2 separate regions of the Homo sapiens genome follow, and region 2 is linked to region 1. The links are contacts of gene promoters, found by promoter capture Hi-C in blood cells and fetal thymus (Javierre and others, 2016). All regions are on one chromosome and are shown on one strand. Each heading gives the region's core, a stretch centred on a gene start or on the middle of the fragment in contact. The rest is flanking DNA. Distances are from core to core; before and after follow the strand shown. Region 1 holds the start of WDR5B (WD repeat domain 5B). Region 2 overlaps MYLK-AS1 (MYLK antisense RNA 1).

What was found. The method cuts DNA at HindIII sites, captures the fragments that hold promoters and counts their contacts. A CHiCAGO score of 5 or more calls a contact.
Region 2: a contact is called between a fragment that was not itself captured here and the fragment with the promoter of WDR5B in region 1, in 8 of 17 cell types (fetal thymus, naive CD8 T cells, non-activated CD4 T cells and 5 more). The highest score is 10.6, in fetal thymus.

The regions. Positions count from the first base shown.
Region 1 is chr3:122,413,431-122,417,674 of GRCh38, reverse strand. WDR5B (WD repeat domain 5B) reads left to right here and starts at 1,613. Exons shown (of 1, transcript NM_019069.4): 1 at 1,613-4,244. The coding sequence starts at 2,147. The coding sequence ends at 3,139. WDR5B-DT (WDR5B divergent transcript) reads right to left here and starts at 1,469. Exons shown (of 3, transcript NR_125405.1): 1 at 1,425-1,469. RefSeq lists enhancers at 1-815, 919-1,118, 1,279-1,328, 1,359-1,598, 816-1,633 and 1 more. The HindIII fragment of the contact is 1,055 bases long and covers 965-2,019 here.
Region 2 is chr3:123,586,539-123,592,388 of GRCh38, reverse strand. The region is part of intron 2 of MYLK-AS1 (MYLK antisense RNA 1); the gene reads right to left. Among named protein-coding and RNA genes, the nearest start is that of MYLK-AS1, 4.0 kb to the right of the region's middle. RefSeq lists a silencer at 1,361-1,561. The HindIII fragment of the contact is 1,187 bases long and covers 1,677-2,863 here.

The DNA of each region.
Region 1 (4,244 bases), core at 364-2,863:
ACTAGCTAAGACTAAAGTATTTGTCCAATTCTTATTTAAATTTCCCCCTAGACTGGTAGGGTCTTAAAGTAATGATATTTTAACTACAGTCGGTTTATTACAGGTGACCTAACGGTGCCTGTTGTGCCTTATAAAGGCCAAGACTTTCAATTATCCCTAATAAGTATACAATAGGATACCCATTGTTTCCAAGTGCTTTTAAATTCTTGACGCTGATGAGACATTTGCATCGTGACCAGCCACCAGTAAAATCTTTTAAGCCACGTTTTTTCTGCTTTTCTTGGGCACTCTTTTTTTTTTTTTTTTTGAGACGGAGTCTCACTGTTGCCCAGGCTGGAGTGCACTGGTGGAATCTCAGCTTACTGCACCCTCCACCTCCTGGTTCATGCCATTCTCCCACCTCAGCCTCCTGAGTAGCTGGGACTACAGGCGTGCGCCATCACGCGCAGCTAATTTTTGTATTTTTAGCAGTATTGGTTGCGCCATGTTGGTCAGGCTGGTCTCGGACACCCGACCTAAAGTGTCCCGCCCGACTGGGCCTCCCAAAGTGCTGGGATTACAGGCGTGAGTGCTCGGCCTCGGGCACTCTTTACTGAGCAACAACAGGTTGGAGAAACTAGTAGGGCTTCCAGTTTTTTGGTAAACCTATTGTTTAAAAGTCTGCCTGGTCATCAGATTCCAGTCGTCTTGTTTCTGCCTCAGATGATAAAACTCTAAAATTATAGGATGTGAGATCTGGAAAATGTTTGAAAACACTAAAGGGGCACAGTAATTATGTCTTTCGTTGCAACTTCAATAGCATGTATATTTTACACACTTTCATGACCATTAATCATCTCCTAAAACTGGGGAAAGCTCTCTAAAACCTCCTTAAGAGTAACCTTATCCGTTACCCTATTCCACCAACCTCTTTGTCCTTTTCTGTTTCAAGCAACTTTGAGATACCGACTTCTCTATGGAAGCTTAAGCCGTAGATGCTAAAACAAACGTTTGCTCGTTACTCCCAGCAGAGCACCGGCTTTTAAAGGACCTCAACAGACACGTTTCTTAACCTTTACGAAACTTTTCCAGGGGAAACTTAAACCAGGAATTTTACAATCTGGCATAAATTCTGTCACCCGCCCCGTGACTCCATCGCCACACATGCCACCTGGCTCCACACCACAACAAACAGGAGGGAGCGGAACCCATGCAAAGCAGGAGCTTCCCCCGTTTCCGGCGTCTGGGTGGATCTACGTTAGCTGCCGTTTAGGCAGCTTACGCGTCAGGTGTGGGCCTAAGCCTGCAGCTAAGGTAGGCATCCGCAAATCTAGTCCTTCTCTGTGACAATTTCCAAAAAGAAATGGTTTTTGAAACAACGATCCACTGCTTCCCACACTATCCAGTTAGGTCCGGGACAGACCCTACCCAGCTAATGCACTCACCCAAGAAGGCAGTCGCTTTCGCATTTGAAGGGCGGGGCGAAAAAGACCGGAAATGAACATTGGCGACTTTTTTGCGCAGGCGCAGATGGCCGTCTCCCATTGGTCATCTCGGCTCGGTAGTGGTAGGAGGGACTTCCTTTGCACATGCGCCAGGCTGCTTTTCCGGCTTTGTTGGAGATTGACGCGGCAGTGCACACCTGCTGGTACGAGCAAAAGTAGCCGACAGGCCAGAGTTTCCAGTTTCGGTGGCTTCGTAGGCTTTTAGCTTCTGAAATCCGCTAAAAGCGGCGGTTCATTCATCTTCAAGTACCTAGCCTGACTGGTAGGGCTGCTCAGCATTCCGAAACATTTCGACCTGGGGAGGGGGGCGGCGGTGAAAGAATACTTTCTGTAGAGAGTGCCCCTCGCGTCGCCCCTGCTTTGAAGGCTTTATGTATTAACGGAATGCCGAACATTTGTGTCCTACTTGCTGACAGCGCACAGGATCCTTCTAACAGTATTTCTCAAGTACTTAACAAAAAGATGAAAACTTGAAGTCCAAGCCGTGCTGCTGATTCCGTCTCACAGTTTAAAGACTGTCCAGAAACTTTAAGCTTTCAAAACTGTACATTTTAAAATCCTGTGCGTTTATCTTCATTTTGCTGGGCAGAAAGCCAAAGTACTGGACTGCCTGGTTCAGGGCTGAACGCCTAGTACACCTGCTAACTTGGAGCTTCAGAGCCATGGCAACCAAGGAGTCAAGAGACGCCAAAGCACAGTTGGCCCTCTCCTCATCGGCCAATCAGAGCAAGGAAGTGCCTGAAAACCCAAACTATGCTCTCAAATGTACTCTTGTGGGACACACGGAAGCAGTGTCATCAGTTAAGTTTAGTCCTAATGGAGAATGGCTAGCAAGTTCTTCTGCTGATAGGCTAATCATAATTTGGGGAGCATATGATGGAAAATATGAGAAAACACTCTATGGTCATAATTTGGAAATATCGGATGTTGCCTGGTCATCAGATTCCAGTCGTCTTGTTTCTGCCTCAGATGATAAAACTCTAAAATTATGGGATGTGAGATCTGGAAAATGTTTGAAAACACTGAAGGGGCACAGTAATTATGTCTTTTGTTGTAACTTCAATCCGCCATCCAACCTTATAATCTCGGGATCTTTTGATGAGACTGTAAAAATATGGGAGGTGAAAACAGGAAAGTGTCTCAAGACTTTGTCTGCTCATTCTGACCCAGTTTCTGCTGTTCATTTTAATTGTAGTGGGTCCTTGATAGTGTCAGGTAGCTATGATGGCCTCTGTAGAATCTGGGATGCTGCATCAGGTCAGTGTTTAAAAACGCTCGTTGATGACGATAACCCTCCTGTCTCTTTTGTAAAATTTTCTCCAAATGGTAAATACATTCTCACTGCAACTTTGGACAACACTCTTAAACTATGGGATTATAGCAGAGGCAGGTGCCTGAAAACATACACTGGTCATAAGAATGAGAAATATTGCATATTTGCCAATTTTTCAGTTACTGGTGGAAAGTGGATTGTGTCTGGTTCCGAGGATAACCTGGTTTACATTTGGAACCTTCAGACTAAAGAGATTGTGCAGAAATTACAAGGCCATACAGATGTTGTGATCTCAGCAGCTTGTCATCCTACAGAAAACCTCATCGCATCAGCAGCATTAGAAAATGACAAAACAATTAAACTGTGGATGAGTAACCACTAATCCCTTTGAAAATCAAGTAGTAGAGCCAAGTTGGCCAAAAAACTTGGATATTTAAAAAGACGGTTTCTTTTAATTTTGGCAGTTTGGTATTTTAAAAATTGTCTATTGTTAAATTTTGAGATTCATACACTACATTTACAAAATGAGATAGTTGAAAAAGCACATCTAGAATTCAGCTTCTGACTACCAATCTTTTTTGAGCAACTTTTTGTAATTTTTATGGATTTATGTCACTTTTATTACAGGGATATATTGCATAGTGGTGAAATCTGGGCTTAGTATACCCTCACCCAAATAGTATACATTGTACCTAGTAAATACTTTCCCATCTCTCACCCCACTCCCACCTTTGAAGGCTCTAGTGTCTATGATTCTGCTCTCCACGTCCAGGTGTACACATTGTTTATCTCCCACTTACGAGAACATGTGGTTTTTGACTTTCTGTATCATTACTTCACTTAATGGCCTCCAGGTCCATCCATGTTGTTGCAAAAGATAAGATTTCATTATTTTTTTTTGGCTGAGTAGTATTCTGTGGTGTGTATGTGTGTGTGTGTATGCATATATGTGTATGTGTATGTATATAAGTATATACACCACATTATCCAGTCATCTGGATATGTATATAAGTATATACACCACATTTTCTTTATCCAGTCATCTCTTGATGGACCCTTAGGTTGGTTCCATAACTTTGCTATTACGAATAGTGCTGCGATAAACAGCACTATTATGAATAGTGCTGCGATAAACAGTGCAGGTGATTTTAAAATATAATTTCCTTTGGGTAGATACCTACTAGTGGGATTGCTGGATCGAATGGTAGTTTTTAGTTGGAAAATCTCCATACTGTTTTCCAGAGGTTGTAAAATGTACATTCCTCCCCACAGTGTATAAGCTGTGCCTTTACTCTGCATCTTTGCCATGATTCTTTTTGAGACAGAGTCTCTGGTGCCCAGGCTGGAGTGCAGTGGCACAATCTTGGCTCACTGCAACCTCTGCCTCCCGGGTTCAAGCAGTTCTCATGTCTCAACATCCCAGGTAGCTAGGATTACAGGCGTGCCACCATGCCTGGCTAATGTTTCTATTTTTAGTAGAGACAGGG
Region 2 (5,850 bases), core at 1,021-3,520, 1.2 Mb before region 1:
CTTGTGGAGAAGGTGCTTGCTTCTCCTTTGCTGTCCACCATTGTATTAGTCCCTTCTCACACTGCTATGAAGAAATATCTGAGACTAGGTAATTTATAAAGGAAAGAGGTTTAGTTGACACAGTTCTGCATGGCTGGGGAGGCCTCAGGAAACTTACAATCATGGTGGAAAGGGAAGCCAACATATCCTTCTTCACATGGCAGCAGGGGAAGTGCCAGATGCTTATAAAACCATCAGAGCTTGTGAGTCTCACTCACTATCCCAAGAACAGCATAGAGGTAACCGCATCCACGATTCAATTACCTCCCACTGGGTCCCTCCTACAACACATGGGGATTATGGGAACTAAAATTCAAGATGAGATGTGGGTGGAAACACAGCGTAATTGTATCAACCATGATTGTAAATTTCCTGAGGCCTCCCAAGCTATGCAGAACTGTGAGTCAATTAAACATCTTTTCTTTATAAATTACCCAGTCTCAGGTAGTTCTTTATCGAAGTGTGAAAATGGACTAATACAGAAGATTGGTACTGGGAGTGGGGCACTGCTATAAAGATACCTCAATATGTTGAAGCAAGTGTGGAACTGGGTAACAGCAGAGGTCAGAACAGTTTGGAGGGCTCAGAAGAAGACATGGGGAAGATGTGGGAAAGTTGGGAACTTCCTAGAGAATTGTTGAATGATTTTGACCAAAATGCTGATAGTGATATGGACAATGAAGTCCAGGCTGAGATGGTCTTAGATGGAGACGAAGAACTTATTGGGAACTGGAGCAAAGGTCACTCTTGCTATGCTTTAGCAAAGAGACTGACAGCATTTTGCCCCTGCCTTAGAGATCTGTGGAACTTTAAACTTGAGACAGATGATTTAGGGTATCTGGTAGAATAAACTTCGAAGCACCAAAGCATTCAAGATGTCACATGGCTTTTTCTGAAAGCAAACGGTCACATGCGTTCACAAGGAGATGATCTGAAATTGGAACTTATGTTTAAAAGGGAAGCAGAGCATAAAAGTTTGGAAAATTTGCAGCCTGACCATGCAGTAGAAAACAAAGACCCATTTTCCAGGGAGATATTCAAGCAGGCTGCAGGAATTTGCACAAGTAACAAGGAGCTGAATGTTAATAGCTGAGACAATGGGGAAAAATGTCTCCAGGGAATTTCAGAGATCTTCAGGACAGCCCCTCCCATCACAGACCTAGAGGCCTAGGAGGGAAAAATAGTTTCCTGGGCTAGGCAGGCCCAGGGCTCTACTGCTGTGTGCAGCCTCAAGACATGGTGCCCTGTGTCCCAGCCACTCCACCTCATGGCTAAAAGGGGCCAAGGTACAGCTTGGGCCATTGCTTCAGAGGGTACAAGCCCCAAGCCCTGGCAGCTTTTATGTGGTGTTGGGCCTGCAAGTGTGCAGAAGCCAAGAGTTGAGGTTTAGAAACCTATGCCTAGATTTCAGAGGATGTATGGAAATGACTGGATGTCCAGTCAGAAGTCTGCTGCATGGGCGGAGCCCTCATGGAGAACCCCTACTAGTGCAGTGCAAAAGGGAAATGTGGGGTTGGAGCATCCACACAGAGTCCCCACTGGGGCAATACCTAGTGGATCTGAGAATAGGGCCACTGTCCTCCAGACCCCAGAATGGTAGATCCACCAACAGCTTGCACCCTGGACCTGGAAAAGCTTCAGGCACTCAACTCCAGCCCATGAAAGCAGCCTTTGGGACTGTACCCTGCAGAGCCACATGGCAAGAGCTGCCCAAAGCCTTAGGAGCTCACCTCTTCAATCAGCATGCACTGGATGTGAGACATGGAGTCAAAGGAGAGTATTTAAGAGGTTTAATATTTAATGACTGCCCAACCAGGTTTCAGACTTGCATGGGGCCTGTGGCCCCTTTGTTTTGGCCAATTTCTCCCATGTGGAATGAGAACATTTACCCAATGCCTGTACCCCCATTGTATCTTGGAAGTAACTAACTTGTTTTTGATTTTACAGGCTTGTAGGTGAAAGAGACTTGCCTTGTCTCAGATCAGACTTTGAACTTGGACTTTTGAGTTAATGCTGAAATGAGTTAAGACTTTGGGGTACTGTTGGGAAGGTATGATTGGAATAGCATGTGCAAATTCCCTGAGGCAAAAAAGGAGTACTGCTCGATGGAAGACCTAAGATGAGGCCAGTATGACTAGGAGGGGCATGGTGAGACTGAGGAGGCAGGTAGGGTCTAGTCTATGCAGATTTTTGTATACCATATTAAATATTTTATGCTTTATCCTAAGTGTCATCAAAAGCCATTTAAATATCTTCAGGGGTGGGGCAGAGGAAGGTAGTAGACACGAACAAGGTTGTATGTGGAAAAGATCACTTTGGCTGTACTGTAGAGCAGGGGTCCCCAACCTCTGGGCCACAGACTGGTACAGGTCCATGGCCTGTTAGGAACCCAGCCACACAGCAGGAGGTGAGCAGCAGGCAAGTGAGCATTACCACCTGATCTCCACCTCCTGCCAGACCAACAGCGGCATTAGATTCTCATAGGAACACGAGCCCTATCATGAACCATGCAGGCGAGGGATCTAGGTTGCAGGCTCCATCTAATGCCTGCTGATCTGAAGTGAAACAGTTTCATCCTGAAACCATTCCCTCCCCAGTCCATGGAAAAATTGTCTTCCATGAAACCAGTCCCTGGTGCCAAAAAGGTTGGAGATTGCTGCTATAAACAACAGACTGGAGTTGGGCCTAAGTGACTGCAAGAAGATACATTGAGTTTTAAACTGATTTCCAACTGAACAGAACTTTATGCATTCCTGCCTCCTCCTACTTTCCCATTAAGTAGATTATATTGAAAAAAAAATCAGTCAAATGAATGAAAGAAGCTTTTAGATGAATGATTATTTGGTTTTGTAAAATGGTTCACTTCTTTATTTCTTTTGCAAAGAAATTTTTTTGCCCTCTGATCACAGTGTGCAATTTGGGCTCACCAACTTGCTCTTTGAAAAATTCAGGAAGGTCGGGTGTGGTGGTTCATGCCTATAATCCCAGCATTTTGGGAGGCCGAGGCAGGTGGATCACCTGAGGTCACGAGTTCGAAACCAGCCTGGCCAACATGGCAAAATCCCGTCTCTACTAAACATACAAAAATTAGCTGGGCGTGGGGGCAGGCACCTGTAATCCCAGCTACTTGGAAGGCTGAGGCAGGAGAATTGCTTGAACCTGGGAGGCGGAGGTTGCAGTGAGCCAAGAGTGTGCCATTGCACTCCAGTCTGGGGGACAAGAGCAAGACTTCGTCTCCAAAAAAAAAAAATTTCAGGAAAACAAGGCAACAGAATCTCTGAACAATCTGCCATGGCGGGAAAGGATGGGACCCTGACAATTGTCAACTTATGCCTCTCACTTCATCTCTTGAGGTCTTGAAACTTCTTTTGCAAAAATTGTAACAGTGAGAAAATTATGACTGAGAGAGATCTGATCTAACCAGCCCCCACCTTGACTCTGTAAATCAAAGAACACGATCAAGGCAAGTCTCAATCATTTTAGGAGGTTTATTTGCCATAGTAAAGGATGCATGCCAGGGAGGCAGGTATATGCCTATCTCCAAAGATGATTTTGAGGGCTTCAGTACTTAAAGGGGAAAGGGTGGATACTGGGGGAAGAGAAATTTTTTTTTTTTTTTGAGACAGAGTCTCGCTCTGTCACCAGGCTGGAGTGCAGCGGCGCAATCTCGGCTCACTGCAACCTCCAACTCCAAGCGATTCTCTTGCCTCAGTCTCCCAAGTAGCTGGGACTACAGGCGCGCACCACCACACCCAGCTAATTTTTGTATTTTTAGTAAAGATGGGGTTTCACCATACTGGCCAGGCTGGTCTCAAACTCCTGACCTCCTGATCTGCCTGCCTGGCCTCCCAAAGTGCTGGGATTACAGGCGTGAGCCACCACGCCCAGCCAAGAAATATTTTTAAATTGTGTCAGTAGATAAAAAGATAAAACAGTTGCATCCTTTTGAATACACAATTTTCATGTGAGTGGGGAGTGGAGGAAATATTCATGCCTTAGTCTGGCTCAGTTAATCTGTATTTTTACATAAGATAACGTAGACAATAGGGCAGAGGAAGCAATCAGATATGCATTTGTCTCAGGTGAGGAGAGGGAAGACTTTGAATTCTGTCCTATGTCCCATACCTGTGAAGATATCAACTTACATTGCCAGGTTGAAATTCAACAGAACTGTTTTAGAGTAAAGATCTTTGGGCCTAAAAGGAATTTCCTTGTGGGTAAAATGTGAGGGAAGTATATAGCTTTTATCTTTGTAGCTATCTTATTTAGGAACCAAATGGGAGGCAGGTTTGTGTGACCCAGTTCCCAGCTTGACTTTTCCCTTTGGCTCAGTGAATCTGGGGTTTTCCTTTCTCATCTTTAACCTCCAAAACTGCCCTTGGTCATTCCTGGGCTTGCACCAAGCTAACTTTGGGAGAAACTTAGTTTACAGTTTAAGCGATAATAGCCCCTCCCCAAAACTAAACCACTTTTGTAAAACTAATGAAAAGCCACCAGGTTAGAAGGATAAGAGGAGCTTGAATTCTGCTAAGACATAGGCTTTGTTAAGTTAAATGATTACCAGCCACTATTCCAGAGGTCACTAGATTTGCAGCTTCCCCAGTTCACTACTGTAGAACCTAAGATTGGCCTTTTGAGATAAACTTTCAGGCTTCTGCATTTCGGATGGCTGACGACCCCACTGAGACCTTTGACTCTTGGCTCAACCAGTCCTGTGGCCTCCACCCAGAAGCAGGCTCAGTGCAGGGGGACCATTTTCCACACCCCTATAATTGCATTCCCAACCAATCAGCAGCACCCATTCCTCCAGCCTCCTGCCTGCCAAACTGTGTGTGTGTTGGGGGGGGGGTGGGTGTTTTGTTTTGTTTTGTTTTGACTATAGCTCTCAGATCTTAGCCAAACTATTCTTGAAAAACCCTACCCTCTGAATTTTGGGGGAGATTTGGAGTAATAACTCCATCTCCAAGACCTATCTCATGTCAATTAAATTCTTTATTGCAATGCCATGGTCTCTATGAATTGATTTTGTCTGTGCAGTGGGAAGGAAGAACGTATTGGGTGATTACAGTGTCATGGATTTAAATACCACCACCACCCTCAGAACTCTGAGAAAAGATAATACCTCAAACAGCTCTGAGCTGTCTGAGCTATGTGAAGTATGCAAAAATTTATCAGGCCCAGAGACAAGAGTTTGCCTGGGGGCAACTGTTTAGACATTTTGTTCCTGACTAGCAGCCTCACCCATTATCTTCATGTTCCTGGAATCTGTGATACAAAGAATAGTTTATAGCCAATCAATAGCTAATGTAATTTTAATGTAAATTCTTAGTAAACAACTTAGAAGCTGCCTCTTTTTCCTTTAAAAACCCACTCATAACCGCTGCTAATCAGAGTGTATATTTAGGGTAACTTGAATCTATGCTCCCAGGTAGCCATCTTCAACCTTTATGCTTGAATAAACTTCCTTTAAACTAGATTCTTACCTTTTTTATTATTTTAGGTTGACAACTCTCAAATTTATATCTCTAGCCCATTGGACTTCCTTCCCGAACCTCAGGGTCTAAATTTAATTGTCTATCCAGCCTCTCCACTTGGATGTTTAATAAGGATTTCAAATTCAACATATAAAAAACAAAATTCCCGACTTCCGCCTTAAAAATGGTTTCTTACAAGTTGCTCAAAACGCCTTTGACCTCACACTCCAAAACTAACATATCCACAAATCTTATAATTCTACTTCTAAAATACGCACAGAATTCATTGTTGTTTTCATCACCTCGATTTCCACCACTCTGGCCCACACCACTATCA